Regions from separate parts of the Homo sapiens genome. Here region 1 is linked to region 2. Evidence: promoter capture Hi-C in 16 types of primary human blood cells and fetal thymus (Javierre and others, 2016). All regions are on one chromosome and are shown on one strand. The core of a region is centred on a gene start or on the middle of the fragment in contact, and the rest is flanking DNA. Distances in the headings are between cores, read along the strand shown. Region 1 holds the start of FAM13B (family with sequence similarity 13 member B). Region 2 holds the start of APBB3 (amyloid beta precursor protein binding family B member 3).

Region 1 (7,240 bases), core at 2,234-4,733, 2.5 Mb after region 2:
GACCTTGGGGAGGCAGATATGCTGAGGTCCTCCCTGGCATCTAGAATGCAGTCCAGGTTGTAGCAAAGATATATTCCTTCCACAGTGATGTGACTCATGACCTTACTTCTGAGAGGCATAATGCCTCTGTTCAGATAAGCTGGGATAGAATGCTTGTTTTCCAGGCTTAAAAGTCATCTTGCAAATAAATAACAATTTTATCTCAAGTAGTAATTTTCCTGGCATGGCCTCATCTCCAGAAGGAGTCTTGGAAACACAAAGGATTGGTCTATACCAGTCACTTCTCATCCTGGCCAAATAGCTATTGCAAATGCTATTTTTGACTCTATTGATATATTGAAATGTGACGTTTCCATCTACAGGTAAAGAATTTGTAGGAAAAAAAGAAGAAAAAGTGATGTAATTTTGAAGTATTCTTTTAGTGAGGTATTCTCTCATCTCTGTAACAAACAGAATTGCTGTTCTTTGCTGTAGGGGCTGTCCTGTGCCGTAAAGGATGTTTACCAGCATCCTTGACCTTCTCCCACCAGCCAATAGCACCTCTCCAGTGGTGACAATCAAAAATGTCTGTATTCAGCAGATCCTGAATTCAGAAGGAAAAAAAAAGTTTAAAAAAAAACCAAAAATGTCTGCACACATGGTCCCCCAAAATTGTCGCAGTTGAGAACCACTGTTTTAACTGAAGCAACAAGATTATTATAAAAGAAACCATCTTCTTCCCTCCATCCACCAAAAAACTAAAGTAATTTCTGAGATAGACCCCCTCTAGAAATTTCAGAGGATTTAGACAAAGCAGGTAGATTAAATACTCAGTTATTTAGTTATAAAAGGCCAAACCAGAATTATTGAGGACAATGTCTTTGGAGACTGTTGCTGGTGAGCTGTGATTCTTACCACAGGTGCCTGCCTGCCTTTTACTTCAAGTCGAGGGAGTGGGCCTTCAATGGATCTGCTCAGAGCACTTGACTTGTACCTCCTGCAGTCTGAGGGGCACCGTGGGCCTGTGTCTGACTCCCACAGGCTGGCGGCTGTTTTGGCAGCAGAGTAGAGGAATGTTGAATCTGCACTGGGATTAGCCTGTACTCCCAAGTTTGTTCGGGCAAGAGGTGCCTGAGAGCTTCCTGTGGACCAGGTGTGGGCCATACAGAGCTGTCACTAGGCTAACACAGCAGCACCATGAGAAAAAAGCTCTCCTTCGTCCAGACGCTTTGCTTCCATCTATTGGGAAGCAGTCGTTGTAATTTAGTTTGGACAAAACACTTTACTGCCACCTGCTGGAAAAACATTAAAATAAATAACATACAGAACTACAGTGAGAATGATGTGAATGGCACCCCCTAGGGTACGGAGTGCACAACCTTGTCCCACAATAAAGGGTCACTTGCAAATGGACGAGTGTGAGAGTCATCTCAGATCCTATCTGACAGGGCCTTTACAGAGATGCCCAGGTTTCAACAGACAAGTAGTTGGAGGTGCGTGGAAAGAAGTAAATAACTGCCAAAATAGCTTTACGCTTAGACCAATAGAATTATGGGGGAGAAACCACCAGAGAAGGGGGATGGTGGTAGTCTCTGAGGTATCCATGAAAAAATAAGTCAGCTTTAAGCATCTACCATGCCCAGGGAATGTCAAACCATCATACAAAGTTAACAACTTTCCTGCTCCTTTTTCTCCCTGCCTTCCCCAGATTTGGTTATGATTAGTTAAGCCGGGAGGAGAAAGACTAGGCAGGTTAAAGATGACTATGGTCCCCTCTTTAGGGCAAGCAATGAGACAACTGTTCCCAGCTGAAAAAGAGGAAAACATTTCACTCTTTGTGACTCAATGACAACAGGACTCTATTCCTAAGGAGACCACAGAACCCCTAAAAACTCATGGAACCTGCCTGAGTTTTCAATTAGGTACATGACAGATCTACTCCCACTGCACAAATTGAAAGGCATGGCAAAAGATACAAAATAAAAGTGTTTGTTTTGAATTATAGCCCATGTGGCCCCTATGTTGAACATACTGTTTTTATATTATCAAGTAGGATCTAGAGAATATATCTTCCAAGAATATGTTCTGCAGTTTTTGAGGGGGAAAATGGTCATTGATCAATTCATTTGTTTTTTGAGATCCCATACTTTGTGGGTAGGGTATAAAAACGCAAGGGAGGCCGGGCACGGTGGCTCACGCCTGTAATCACAGCACTTTGGGAGGCTGAGGTGGGAGGATCACTTGAGGCCAGGAGTTCAAGAGAGGCCTGGGCAACATAGGGAAACCCATCTCTAAAAAAATTTTAAAATTAGCCAGGCATGGTGGCATGTCCCTGTAGTCCCAGCTACTCAGGAGACTAGGGTAGGAATGCTGCTGGAGGCCAGGAAGTTGAGGCTGTATTGAGCCATAATCCAGACACTGGACCCCAGCCTGAGTGACAGAGCAAGACCTTGTCTCACCAAAAAAAAAAAAAAAAAAAAAAAAAAAAAAAAGGCAAGGGAATCCTTCCCTCTGGGAGCTTACATCTTAGGTTTCATATTCAGAGCAAAGTATTTATTACAGTCAGTTATGTCAACAAGAGCCTGTGTTGCATATGTGGGGCAGGCGGAGGAGGTTTTTAACTCTCTTCGGATTTACTCTCAAGACTTTTACGCACTTATGATAAAGCTTTTGAAGCAATCATATTGCTCCTGTTCTCCAAGCATGGAATCACAGGTAAAGCTTTCATTTAAGATATTTAAAGAGAGATACAAGGCTAAATGCACAGACTGCATCTTCACTGGGCTGCTCTGAAATCAGGCTCTGTTGATCCTGTTTGGCAGATTTGGAAACTTTTATTTCACTTCGCTCAAGTTTAAATAGGCTCTGAGAAATTAATTCGGATAAAACAATTCAACCCAGTGAACAGTGTCCGATTTGTAAACCATGATATGAATTTATTGACAAAAACTGTACAGCTAGTATAACTAGTCCTAGTTATATGCCTTGGACAATCCCTTCTTATTGGGTATGTAGATTTATTTGAGAGACTCCCTGAATGATGGAAAGGCTACTAGCTGAGTTTGGAATCAGAGTATGGGCCTTTGTATGCTCTTAACGGAGATCCAGAATTTAGGTTTGCTAGGATATAAACTCCACGAAGGCAGGGATTTACTGACGTATCTTAAGAGACTAGAACATAGTAAGCATTCACTAAGTATCTGTTGAATGAGTGAGTGAATCTGAATTAAGATTTAACTGCCCTGAGAGTAAGTGTTGGTTCTGGTCATTAGAATCAGTTGCCTCGTTCCTGGACAGAGTTCCTGGGAGCCTCATAGAACATTCTTATTCAGATTCTTCTGGTTTTAGACTCTTTGTGGACCCCACCCTTCGGTTATGACAGCATTAACTGGGTATGTGACACTTAGGTTACACATGGTTTACTCTCTCTGATGAAATGTGGGAGACACTGTGGCCTCTGTAGCCCATTTACAGATCATTTCATAGGGTAACTTTATTTTTTTCAAATCTTGTCCCAAGTTCTATGAGGGTTCTTGTTTTACATTTTCCAAGTTACTAACTTCCAGCTCAGGTAGGTAAGGGACAACTGAATTGTGGTGGCTGCTATTTTTTGTGCAGGTGTTGATCTACCGGCTGTCAAGGAGTCCAAATGGAAGATCTCAAAGCCCTTAACAGACTATAACAAAGAAGAGATTGGCTGAATATTCATACCCTTGTGAGTTCAAGGGAGTTGTAGGGATGGTCTGGGTAGCCATGCAAGTTCAGAGAGCTCATTCTTTCTGCCTCCTTTCAGCTCTGCCTCCGCAGCTGGCTGATTTTAGTATACGAAGCTCCCTGTAAGCCCGCAGCCTATCGACTTCCACAGTCCCAGACTAAGGCACCGAAGCCTTACTGTTCTCTCTGGAGTCTAGGTCAGGTCCTGAGGTGAAGGGGTAGGGTGGGGGCGGGCAGGACGCAGGTGCAGCCCCGTGGTCCCGGATCTAACTCACATCTCTGGGAATGGGAACCGAAGTCACCGCTTAGGTCTCCCCCAGCGGTTTTCGGTTCAGGTCTCTGTGCTCCTCACCTGGATATGGGCGCCCTGGGGGCCTGGCTTCCTCCGCAGAGACCAGAAGCGATCTCTGTGTTCCGGATTTTCCCTTTATCTTTCCTCTCCCCAGTGTCCTCTCTGTTTCCCAACCTCCCCATACCGAGGACCCCACAACCCGCCCCGGGATGGCGCCTGGCTGCTCGCACCCTAATTCAGGACCCCAATTGGTGGGAGAGGAACCGCGGTCCTCAAGCTTGCAGGACACAGGGCCGCTGCCCGGAATGCTGTGGGGGTGGGGACCCTCGCCGCCCCGCCCCCACCAGCGGCCTGCCCCGCCCCCTCCCACGCACGTCACGTCCGGCCCGGCCTCCGCCCGCCAGCCGCTCTCCTCCCGCTCGCCGTTAGGGAGGCTCTGCACCTCAGCCGCCGCCTCTGTCGCCACTCTCTCCCCCTGTTCCGCGTCTGCGTCGCCACCACCGCCGGGGGTATCCGGGGGGTCGCTTACCGGGCTGGCCCCGCGCCACAGCCGTAGCTTTAACCTCCCGTCAGCGGCCGCCCCAGGAAGAGGCTTCTCGGCCGCGGAGCCACTTGGGGCCTCAGTTCTCGCCCTCTTGCCGTCGCCGCGGGTCCTGGAGAAGCGGCCGCGGCCAGGGAACGGGGCATCGCGGTTCCAACGGTAGGTAAACGGGCGGGTACCCGGATCTGCGCATGCGCGGGTTGCAGGTCGCCGCGGCCCTTCCCCTCCTGTTGCCCCCCAGCGCCGCCTGCCACCCGCGCCTGCTCTCGGGCGTTGCGTTTCGGGATGTGGAGGACTCTAGCAGGTGGGGCGTTCCGTGGAGAGGGCCCCCTTTCCGCTGGAGAAAGAGGAAGATGAAGCCGTGTCCCTGGCTGCCGGGGGGTGTGGCAGCCTTGGATTTGCAGCGGCTGCAGTGCAGTTGAGCGGGCGTGCCCCTCACCTCCAGCCCCTCCAGAGTAGATGGCGCGACACCCCACGTTTCTTTGCTGACCTCTCCTGCCCGCTGGCGCTGCGCCTCTTCCCCGCCCACTTCCTTCATGCTGGGCAGTGAAGTTGATGTAGAAGAAAAAGGAGTGTGTTTTATTCTGGGCTCAACTGCGCCCCTTTTTAAGGTCACGTGAGATGAGTGGTTGCGGACTTCCTTAAATCGCTCAGAGAATATAGCCAAAATTGGGCTGTTGGTGCACTGGGGCCTTGTCTAGAATGCGCTCTGCATAGGCCAGGCTGGAGGGGGACACTTTGTATAGCATTAGGGTTCGCGTGGCACGCCTGGTTTCCTAGATGAGGTTGTAGGAATCGGTTGGCACATTTGCGCAGTGGGAAACTGTTAAGCCCTTTTTGTTTGTAATCAGTTAAAATCAAACTGACTTTTAGAAAGACGGTGGATTATTTCATTTGGTTCCCCGTTTCGCCTTCTAATCAGTGAAAAAAGTTGGGCATTTACTTTGAAGGATCTGATAATCTAAAATGGTAGCCAGAATCATTACCAGTAGTAATGCAGACTATTAACATTAACTGGGGTGCACCTGTTTAGAGAGACAGACATTAAAGGGTGGTTTTGAATTATTTGTCTTTTTAGAGCTGGGTTAGTGTGAGGCTATTTTCAACCTTCCTTTTTTGGTAACCTTGAAATGCTTGTTGGCCTGGTTTTCTCACAGGTACTGTGCATTTACTAAGTGCTTGTTGATGGAATTGAATGGACTGATAATTATTTGTATATCCATTGGGAGCGCCTTCTTACTTTTTTTTTTTTTTCCTTGAGACAGTTTCGCTCTGTCGTACAGGCTGGAGTGCAGTGGAGCGATCTCGGTTCACTGCAACCTCCTCCTCCCGGATTCAAGCGATTCTCCTGCCTCAGCCTCCTGAGTAGCTGGGACTACAGGCGCCCGCCACCACGCCTGACTAATTTTTGTATTTTTGGTAGAGATCAGATTTCACTAAGTTGGCCAGGCTGGTCTTGAACTGACCTCAAGTGATCCGCCTGCCTCAGCCTCCCAGAGTTCTGGGATTACAGGCGTGAGTCACCGTGCCTTGCCCCCTTCTTACTTTTTTAATCCGTGCTGCTTTTAAAATTGGAGTAATAGTTTCTCCAGTTTAATTTTATTACTAATTTAGACACGTGTGTGACACAGCTTAAGTTCTTGGAAAATGTAGAAGGGCATATTGCAGTGGCATAATTCATTGGGTGGTGTAAATGTTAGTTTTTTTTATTAGAATGTCATTGTTTTAGGAGAGAAAATGGCTGAAATGAATCTGTTGACTTGTCAGTGTTTCCCCACCAATAAAATAACTGCTTTTATAATCAGTTATGAATAACCTCAATCCATCGCTGCATAGCTCCTCCATCATCGTATTCAAATTTTAAATTTGGGGACTATAATAGTGTAAATTACTGTTTTGTTTTTTTTTTTGAGACAGGGCATCACTGTCGCCCAGGCTGGAGTGCAGTGGTGCAATCTCGGCTGACTGCAACCTCTGCCTCCCAGGTTCTAACGATTCTTCTGACTTAGCCTCCCGAGTAGCTAGGACTACCGGTGCTTGCCACTGCGCCTGACTAATTTTTGTATTTTTTGTAAGACGGGGTTTTGCCATGTTGCCCAGGCTGGTCTCAAACTCCTGACCTCAGATGATCTGCCTGCTTCTGCCTCCCAAAGTGCTGGGATTACAGGTGTGAGCCACCTTGCCACCTTGCCCAGCCTTACGTTCAATTTTTTTTTTTGGGGGGGGGGGACGGAGTTTCATTCTTGTTGCCCAGGCTGAAGTGCAAATTTTAGTGTGTAAATTATACCTTAATAAATGTATTTTTTTAAAAACCCACTGGTGGACTTTGGAGAGCTTATACTCTGTTGGTAGAAACAGACATTAAACAAACACAAAATGAATATGTAATAAAACTTGTGGTAAGCCAGGCTCACGCCTGTAATCCCAGCACTTTGGGAGGCTAAGGCTGGAGGATCAGTTGAGCTTAGGAGTTTGAGGCCAGCCTGGGCAACATAGGGAGACTCTCTTTACAGAAAAAAAAAAAAAAAAAGCCAGGCATGGTGGCATGCTCCTGTTGTCCCAGCTGCTCAGGGAGCTGAGGTGGGAGGATTGCTTGAGCCCAGGAGTTTGAGGCTGCAGTGAGCTGTGATGATGCCATTGCATTCCAGCCTGGGGGACAGAGTGAGACCCTGTCTCAAAAAACAAAACAAGAAACCTGTGATGAATATTTTGGA
Region 2 (7,483 bases), core at 3,550-6,049:
AGTTTTTTGGCCTAGAGTCTAGTTTGTCCTGCTCGGCCCAGCACCTGCTGTTCCCAAGACTCTCTCCGCATTCCCCTGGGCCCAAGTTTTGTGCTCCAGGGAAATTTCAAAAGCTCTATGACAGGGAAATGTCTCAGTTCCATGGAACTCTCACAGGAAATAATGCCACTGGCAACAGCTTGGAGAAAACAATTTTTTCTTAGTCTAAAAGTTATCCCAGAATTAAGATACTCAGGACCCCAGAGGAACAAAATTGTTTGAGGGGAGTTGCGCAGACAGAAGACACAAGACAATCATGGCTGTGGTTGTAGGAACCACCCTACAGCCTAGAAGACTTTATTAAGATCTTATTGCTTATGCAGTTAAAGAGACACTGATTGAGCTACAGGTTTCCTGTACCTGGTCTCAGGTCACTCTGTGCAGAGCTTCCCCAGGCTGTTGGGAGCTGGGAGACTGCTAGGCAGGGGCAGGCCCCAGAGTGGGAAGCATGGTACCTCCTAGGAGCCTCAGAGTGGGTAGCGGGCTTCAAGACAGCCCTCAGGGTGAACAGAGAGGTCAGGAGTGTCGGCTTAAGCCAGGGCCCAGGGGCTACATTCCCTGAGATGAGTCAAGCCCAGCCCTCTCTGGGGTTTCCAGAACAAAGGCTAGGTGTGGGGAGCAGCACTGTGGAGAGGGCAGGGAGCATGTCTCTAGGCATTGCTGGAACTGGAGGAGACTGTCAGAGTGGTTTGGGTAATGGTTGTATAATCTGTGGCAACTGGGCCTTCTTGCATGAAAGTGGAAGGGTGAGGATCCCTTATGGAAGAGTCATGCACCATGGCTGGGCTGGACTAGCCAGCTCCAGTGGCTCTGCTGGGTGACTAAAGTAGGCAAGGAAAGCCACTTGTTGCCCACACCCCACTTTCATCAACTCTGTTCATGCAGGACAAAGCAGGGAGCTGCCCAACAAGGATGGGGTTATTTCTCAGGCCTAGGTATTGATGTTACCTTAATTCTTTAGTCTGGAAGAACTTGGTTGGGGGTGGGGGATGGTAAGCATTTCCTTAACCAAACCCACACTTCACATCTCCTAGGGGTACCCCTTCATCCACCAACCTCCAGAGAATAACCTGGCTGCCCTCACTTCTCCAGCTTTTCTCACAAGGCACTTGTTACAGGGCTGCTGATGGGAGAGGGAGGAAGGCCTGGGAGGGGGATCTGGTGGTGGCGCCCAATCTACAGGGTCCGGAATCAGGGTGGAAGTTGTCAGGGACTAGCGGCTGCCATAGTACAGGCGCATGGCCAGGCCAATGAGCAATGTGGCCAGGAAGAAGGCGGCTGTGAGCTGCAGCCGTAGCAGGACTGCTGAGAGCACGGCGTTGACCACCAGCGAGCAGGACACCACAAAGAGGCGTGTGATGCTGCTGCCATGCTTCATGACAGCAGACATGAGCAGTCCATTTAGTGCCTGGCTCAGCACCACGAGTGCTGCCCATCCTGAGAAACCTTCCAGGAGGCCTGGGCCAGAGCCGCCGCCAGCATGCAGACCTAGATTCAGAAGCACACCAAAAGTGTAGAGGAAGAGGTTCTGAAGTGCCAGGGGCAGCCGCTGTCGCTTCATGAGCAGCTCTGTGTACACTGACGACAAGCCTGAGATGAGGCAGTACAGAATGAGGAGCAGCAGGCCTAGCGGAGTGATATGCAGGGGCATGGGGCTGGCAGCAGCTGCTGGAGGGGGACTGGGAAGGGTGTTCCCGGGAACTTGAAGGCCCCCTGCTGCATAGCAGGCTCCCGCAGCCATCAGCAGCAGCAGCGCTAACCCCTGACGCACAGAGAGGCGGTGCCGGAGGCAGAGGCAGTAGAGCACAGCTGTGCTTCCAATCTTGAGATTACTCAGCACCTGGTAGGTGCTGGGGTCCATGTAACGCTGAAGATAGATCACCAGGTTGTTGTTAGCGCCATAGAGCAGGGCTGATAGTGCGAAGGGAGCAGCCTGGCGCCAGGGTGGGGGCCCCTGGGGCCATGCTTGCCAGCCTACCAGAAGGGAGAAGGCGCATAACAGTAGCTTGGTCAGCTCAGTCAGCAGCACGGCTGAGGAGGGCCGGAAGGGCACTCGGCCGTCCACATGGCACAGTGCCAGCAATGGGGCATGGGCACCGTACATGGCAGTGGATAGGAGTAGCATCAGGGTCCAGCGGGCCTGCCTGGGACGGCCCAGGCCTGGCATACCCCCATCCTCTACACTCATACCCACACAAGACCCTGGGTGGCTAAGGGGCAGCAGGGATTGCAACACGTTTGGGGAAAATCAAGTTATGGAGCCAGCTCCCAGGAAGGAGAAGCCGTGGAACATTGCCAGAGAGAATACTGAGGATCAGAGGCATCTACCAACTCCACAGTCAGGGCTTGAAGAGTAAGGGGCTGGTGGTCCTTGAAGCCACAGTCTTGGGGCGAGTCCCATGGAGCTAGGAAGGGGAAGAAGGAATCCAGGGTGCAGGCTGAGGAACTACTGTCCACAATCTGCAGGAAGGGAGGCAAGGATGAAGGTGGCAGGAAAGTTGGAGATAGCAAATGGATGACAGCTGGGGAATCCAGATAAAGTGTCTCCACCTGAAGGCTGAGCTGCTCATCCTGCCTCTTCCATGGCACCTAGAGCTAGTCGGGCCCCTTGCGTAGCAACTGCAAATAGTCCCTTAATGTCTTCTCCACGTTGGGCACAGCATATGCCTGAGCCGCATAGATGCCAGTGCAGGTGCCCACAGCAAAGCCCAATACTGCTGATGCCCTCAGTTTGGCCACCACATAGCCAGCCAGGAATCCCTTGAGGAACGGGGAGGACAACAGCGAGCCATCCTGCAGAGAAAAATGCAGAAGGAAACTTAGCTAGGCTCCTTCCTGACTGTCCAGGGGCTACTCAAGCTGGGATTAGAGCATTCCACCACCAGCTCCTCCTCACCCTGGACAACCGTGGTATTTTCTCCAGATTTTTCCCAAGGTTCTGGGGCCAGAAAAAGAACCAAGCAGTTCTGATCACACAATCTCAGAACCCTGGGGTCAGAAAGCTCCAACCATAGAACTCCACCGCCACACAAGGTCAGAGATGCCCCTAGCCCTGCCGGTTTCTCCAGCCTCATTTCCTAGCATGCTCCCCAACTACTGTAGCCAAATGGACCTCCTTTCACCCCTCATGTTTATAATGCTACTTCCTACCACAAGGCCTTTACATATGCTGTTCTGCCTGGAATGTTCTTTCCTCCCCTCTTCACCTACTTAACCACTACTTAAGATATTAGTTCATGTGCCATTCAGAAAAATTGTCCTTAGGGTGACTGAGAATAGGCCCTCAATAATCACTTGCTGAAGAAATCTCTACCATCCATTTAACACTCTCAAGAGCATGTTGGGCAATAAAGCCTAAGGCAGGGGTGGGGTGGGACAGTCCTTACCTGGCCCACTCCACTGTTGACTTCGTCTTCTACACGCCGCTGCAGGCTTTCCAGCTGGTTCTTGAGAAATGCCAGGTCCTTAAGCTTAGGCAGAGAATCCTAGGACAAGCGAGAGGCTGGCTCCAGCAGTCTGACTAAGCCCCACCCCTTGCTCAATTCCATCAGAAGCTGGGAATTGGGAGGGGATGGGGTGAGCCAGAAAGACCTTTTCCTATAAAAGCTTCCTGAGATGGCAGTGGCAAAGAAAGACAAGCATTGAAAAGCACAGAATTCAAATGAGGGCCAGGAAGGGACTGACAGATGGGATCTGAACCAGTAACTTACATCAACCTTGACAAGAATTTTATATAGCAAGCAGTATGTAGGAAAGGCAGGAGGGACAGCTAGGGACCTTTAATTAGGTCCATCAGGAAACCACTACTGACTCCATTATGAGCTCCTTGAAAGTCGTGACCAGTCTGTCTTGGCTACTATGTTCTAGTGCCTGACATTTAGTAAATGTGTGGGTAATGCTGAGCTTCTAGACCAATGGTGAGTAATGGACCGAGGCAGTTTCCTGGACAATTTTATTGTCTTGGTTCCTGGATGGGCTTTACCTCTTTCTTCCCAAGGACATCCCAAACTGAATGTGAGTGACTGGATGTGACTGAGAATGACAAAAAAGACTGTCGGCAAGTGTGTAAGTAAATGGACTGAGTGATTTTGATCGCATATAAGTATGAAATTCAGAATGTATGCAAAGGAGTGTTTGAATGAGGGTGGTGTGAGTGTCCGTGTGATTGGAAACATCGTGTCACTGGGAAGAAAATTTCGGGAGCTAGGGAATGGGGTAAAGTGAGGAGTGTTTAAGGGTGAATGTTTTTGAGTCTGTGCTAGTAACGGGTTCGTGATGGTTCCCAGGAGGGGACATCTGGGGGATCCACGGCTCCTCCCGCCTCGCCGAATGCTCTCCCCACACCACTCCACACTGTTGAGGCAGTTGACAGGAGCCGCAGAAGAAACAAGGGACATCCTCACTCCTGAGCCGCTCCAGAGTCGCTTCTCCCCGGAACTAAAAAGGTCAAGGAGAGTGAAGACCACGCCCGGCTGCAGATCACCCCCACGGCCACTCACCTTGTCATCCGCCATCTTCCCCGCCGAACTTGTTGCGCAGGCGCATCCCCGCCTCCCTCGTGCCGACTGCCCCGGCCATCTTTACGGAGGGCGAAGGCACTTCCGGAGCATTTTTGGAAAGGGGGAGGTGCTTTCCTAGTGGCCAAGTACGCCTCTCTCAGATACTTCCACGTGACCCCCTCCCGTCGAGTCTCAGGCTGCGTGTGAGCGCACTCACGACCGGGGCGCGATGATCTCACTCGTGCGCGAGTGCGCGCGGCGCATGTTCGGCGTGTCGGTCTTCAGGCGCCTGATGAGTTCATAGTTGGGCGGTGGTGTCAGCGGTTTCGCTGGCGTTCGTGGGCCTCCCCCGGACCCACACACGGAAACACGCAACCATTCGGGGATCCAGACGCCCGTTTACACGCACCACCCCTGGGCGGGCTGTGCGGCTCAGGCCCTCCCCCGGGACCGGCCCGTGTCCCGCCCCGTGTCCCGCCCCGTATTTGTGCGGCGCCAGCTGGCCCCGCAGCCTGCGGCGCAGAGAGGCTGGGCTTGCAGGCGCAGTAGCTCCAGAGGTCGCGCTGGGCTGAGAGTGCGGGCCGGCAGAGGCTGGCGGGGAGCAGCCGGGGTTATGCTGGGCAAGGATTACATGCTGGCCATCATTCTGGTCAACTGCGATGGTGTGCACGGAGGGGCCCGGTGGGAAGACCAGGAGCTGAGGGAGGACGAGGGAATCCGAAAGGCTACTCTGGGGCTCAAAGACGGTGGGGGATACCTCTCTGTGTAGGGACCAGGGGGCGAATGAACCCGGTCTTTACATGTGATGTCTTCAAGATTGAGGAGCCTGGATCTTCAGCCTAAGAACTGACCCATTTTGGGGATGGAGAGGGGATTATGACAGCATGTTATTCTGAACTCACAAATCATATGCTCCCTCCTCTCTAATCCGGTGTTCCTGTAGATGACTTGTGGGGGGACCACAGTCTGGAGGTGGAGGCTGGCCTGCCTCCTGGCTGGAGGAAGATCCACGATGCTGCAGGTACTTACTACTGGCATGTACCCAGCGGTAGCACCCAGTGGCAGCGCCCAACCTGGGAACTAGGAGATGCAGAGGACCCAGGCACGGTAGGTAGAGTGTGAGGAGGAGGTCTGAGCCCATGTGTGGACCTAGGTCTGCTGTTAAACTGACTAACTCCCACTCTACAGGGAACGGAGGGGATCTGGGGACTGCGGCCCCCCAAAGGGAGATCCTTCTCCAGCCTGGAGAGTTCACTGGACCGGAGGTAACGGGTGGCCCAGGCAAAATGAAAGGCTTGGGGTTCCATGGTGTTCAAAAATGCAGCTGGACCCATGGTCTGCTTTCCAGCCCAGGTTCTGGATTCTGTCACATGTTTTGGGTTCTGTTACGTTCTTGGCTCTGTCCCAGGTTCTTAACTGTCAGTATTTTGAGTTTTATCCCTTGTTCTAAGCTCTTGTTTGTAGCTACATGTTTTTCATATTCTTGGTCCTAACCTATCATGTTCTAGACCTTGGCCATTAAGTCCTCTGTTCTAGGGTCTCTTGTCCCACTTTGGGGTTCTGGTCCACATATTGGACCCTGTTCTATTTTGTGACTTTTATTTTTTATTTTTTGAGATGGAGTCTCACTCTGTCATCCAGGCTGGAGTGCAGTGGCACGATCTTGGCTCACTGCAACCTCCGCCTCCCAGGTTCAAGTCATTCTCCTGCCTCAGCCTCCTGAGTAGCTGAAACTACAGGCACATGCCACCATGCCCAGCTAATGTTTGTATTTTTAGTAGATATGGGGTTTCACCATGTTGGCCAGGATGGTCTCGATATCCTGACCTCATGATCCACCCGTCTCAGCCTCCCAAAGTGTTGGGATTACAGGCGTGAGCCACCACTGCACCTAGCCTTGTGACTTTTATTCTATGTCCTGTGTCTGGGTCCTATGTCCTGAATTTTCCCTCAAATTCTGAGTCACACTTTATGTTACGTTAATATGTCCTGGGCTCTACCCTGCTCTGGTTTTATATTTCTGGTGCTATATTCTGGGTCTTGCCCCTCATCCTGTGCTTATCAAGTTGTCTAGGCCTCACCAGTGTCCCTACTGTAGGAAATGTGGTCCTCTTAACAGCTCTGCTCTGTTTCAGTAACTCTCTGTCCTGGTATGGTGGGGAATCCTACATCCAGAGCATGGAGCCAGGGGCTAAGGTAGTGACTTGGGCCTGAGGGCATTGGGAGGTCCCAAGGGAAAGACAAGGGTGGGATTGGACTGAACAGAGGTGATCAAGGGTGAAGACAGGGAGTATGTATTGTGGCACCTGCCACCCTACTCCATCCTTATTAATTCCTGTCCCTTCCCCCAACCTGTCAGTGCTTTGCAGTCCGCTCTCTGGGCTGGGTAGAGGTACCTGAAGAGGACCTGGCACCGGGGAAGAGCAGTATTGCAGTCAATAACTGTATCCAGCAGCTGGCCCAGACCCGCAGCCGGAGCCAGCCTCCAGATGGTGCCTGGGGTGAGGTGAGTTGGCTGGGCCCTTTAATGGTTTGGGCCCAGGGCCCAGCAGAGGTAGCTGTCCCTGAATTTCCTATTTCTCATGGCAATGACCTTTATCTGAGCTCTGGGCTGACCTCTGTCCTTGGCAGGGCCAGAACATGCTGATGATCCTGAAGAAGGATGCCATGAGCCTAGTGAATCCCCTGGACCACAGTCTGATCCACTGCCAGCCTCTGGTGCACATCCGTGTGTGGGGCGTGGGGAGCTCCAAGGGCCGGTGAGGATGCCTACATCCCCCAAGCAAGAGCTACTTCTCCCTCCCGGCTGCAGGCTGTGATCCCCACTGATGCTGATCCCCAGTACTTGAACCCCTGGACACAGATCCTCTGATGTGGACCCAGGACTGCTTCCCCTGCCTGGTCCAGCCCTGGTTGGGGAGGGTGGGCCCAGCTCAGCAGGGACA

The links. The method cuts DNA at HindIII sites, captures the fragments that hold promoters and counts their contacts. A CHiCAGO score of 5 or more calls a contact.
Region 1: a contact is called between a fragment that was not itself captured here and the fragment with the promoter of APBB3 in region 2, in 1 of 17 cell types (non-activated CD4 T cells). The highest score is 5.4, in non-activated CD4 T cells.

What each region holds. Positions count from the first base shown.
Region 1 is chr5:138,030,227-138,037,466 of GRCh38, reverse strand. It overlaps FAM13B (family with sequence similarity 13 member B), which reads left to right and starts at 4,388. Exons shown (of 24, transcript NM_001385994.1): 1 at 4,388-4,685. It overlaps FAM13B-AS1 (FAM13B antisense RNA 1), which reads right to left and starts at 4,693. Exons shown (of 2, transcript NR_037900.2): 1 at 4,515-4,693; 2 at 1-1,274. LOC124901077 (a long non-coding RNA gene) reads right to left here and starts at 4,328. Exons shown (of 2, transcript XR_007058952.1): 1 at 4,216-4,328; 2 at 2,794-3,972. RefSeq lists enhancers at 999-1,208, 4,316-5,199, 5,300-5,359, 6,574-7,075 and silencers at 4,680-4,729, 4,740-4,809. The HindIII fragment of the contact is 1,562 bases long and covers 2,703-4,264 here.
Region 2 is chr5:140,561,914-140,569,396 of GRCh38, reverse strand. It overlaps APBB3 (amyloid beta precursor protein binding family B member 3), which reads left to right and starts at 4,799. Exons shown (of 13, transcript NM_133173.3): 1 at 4,799-5,200; 2 at 5,482-5,645; 3 at 5,727-5,803; 4 at 6,674-6,734; 5 at 6,898-7,044; 6 at 7,170-7,297. The coding sequence starts at 5,152. SLC35A4 (solute carrier family 35 member A4) reads right to left here and starts at 4,569. Exons shown (of 3, transcript NM_080670.4): 1 at 4,539-4,569; 2 at 3,426-3,524; 3 at 297-2,832. The coding sequence starts at 2,227. The coding sequence ends at 1,253. LOC131768270 (SLC35A4 upstream open reading frame protein) reads right to left here and starts at 4,569. Exons shown (of 3, transcript NM_001394034.2): 1 at 4,539-4,569; 2 at 3,426-3,524; 3 at 297-2,832. The coding sequence starts at 4,553. The coding sequence ends at 2,635. It overlaps MIR6831 (microRNA 6831), which reads left to right and starts at 5,646; the gene lies at 5,646-5,726. RefSeq lists enhancers at 1-94, 4,492-4,611, 4,367-4,973, 5,582-5,641 and a silencer at 4,932-5,111. The HindIII fragment of the contact is 4,216 bases long and covers 3,648-7,483 here.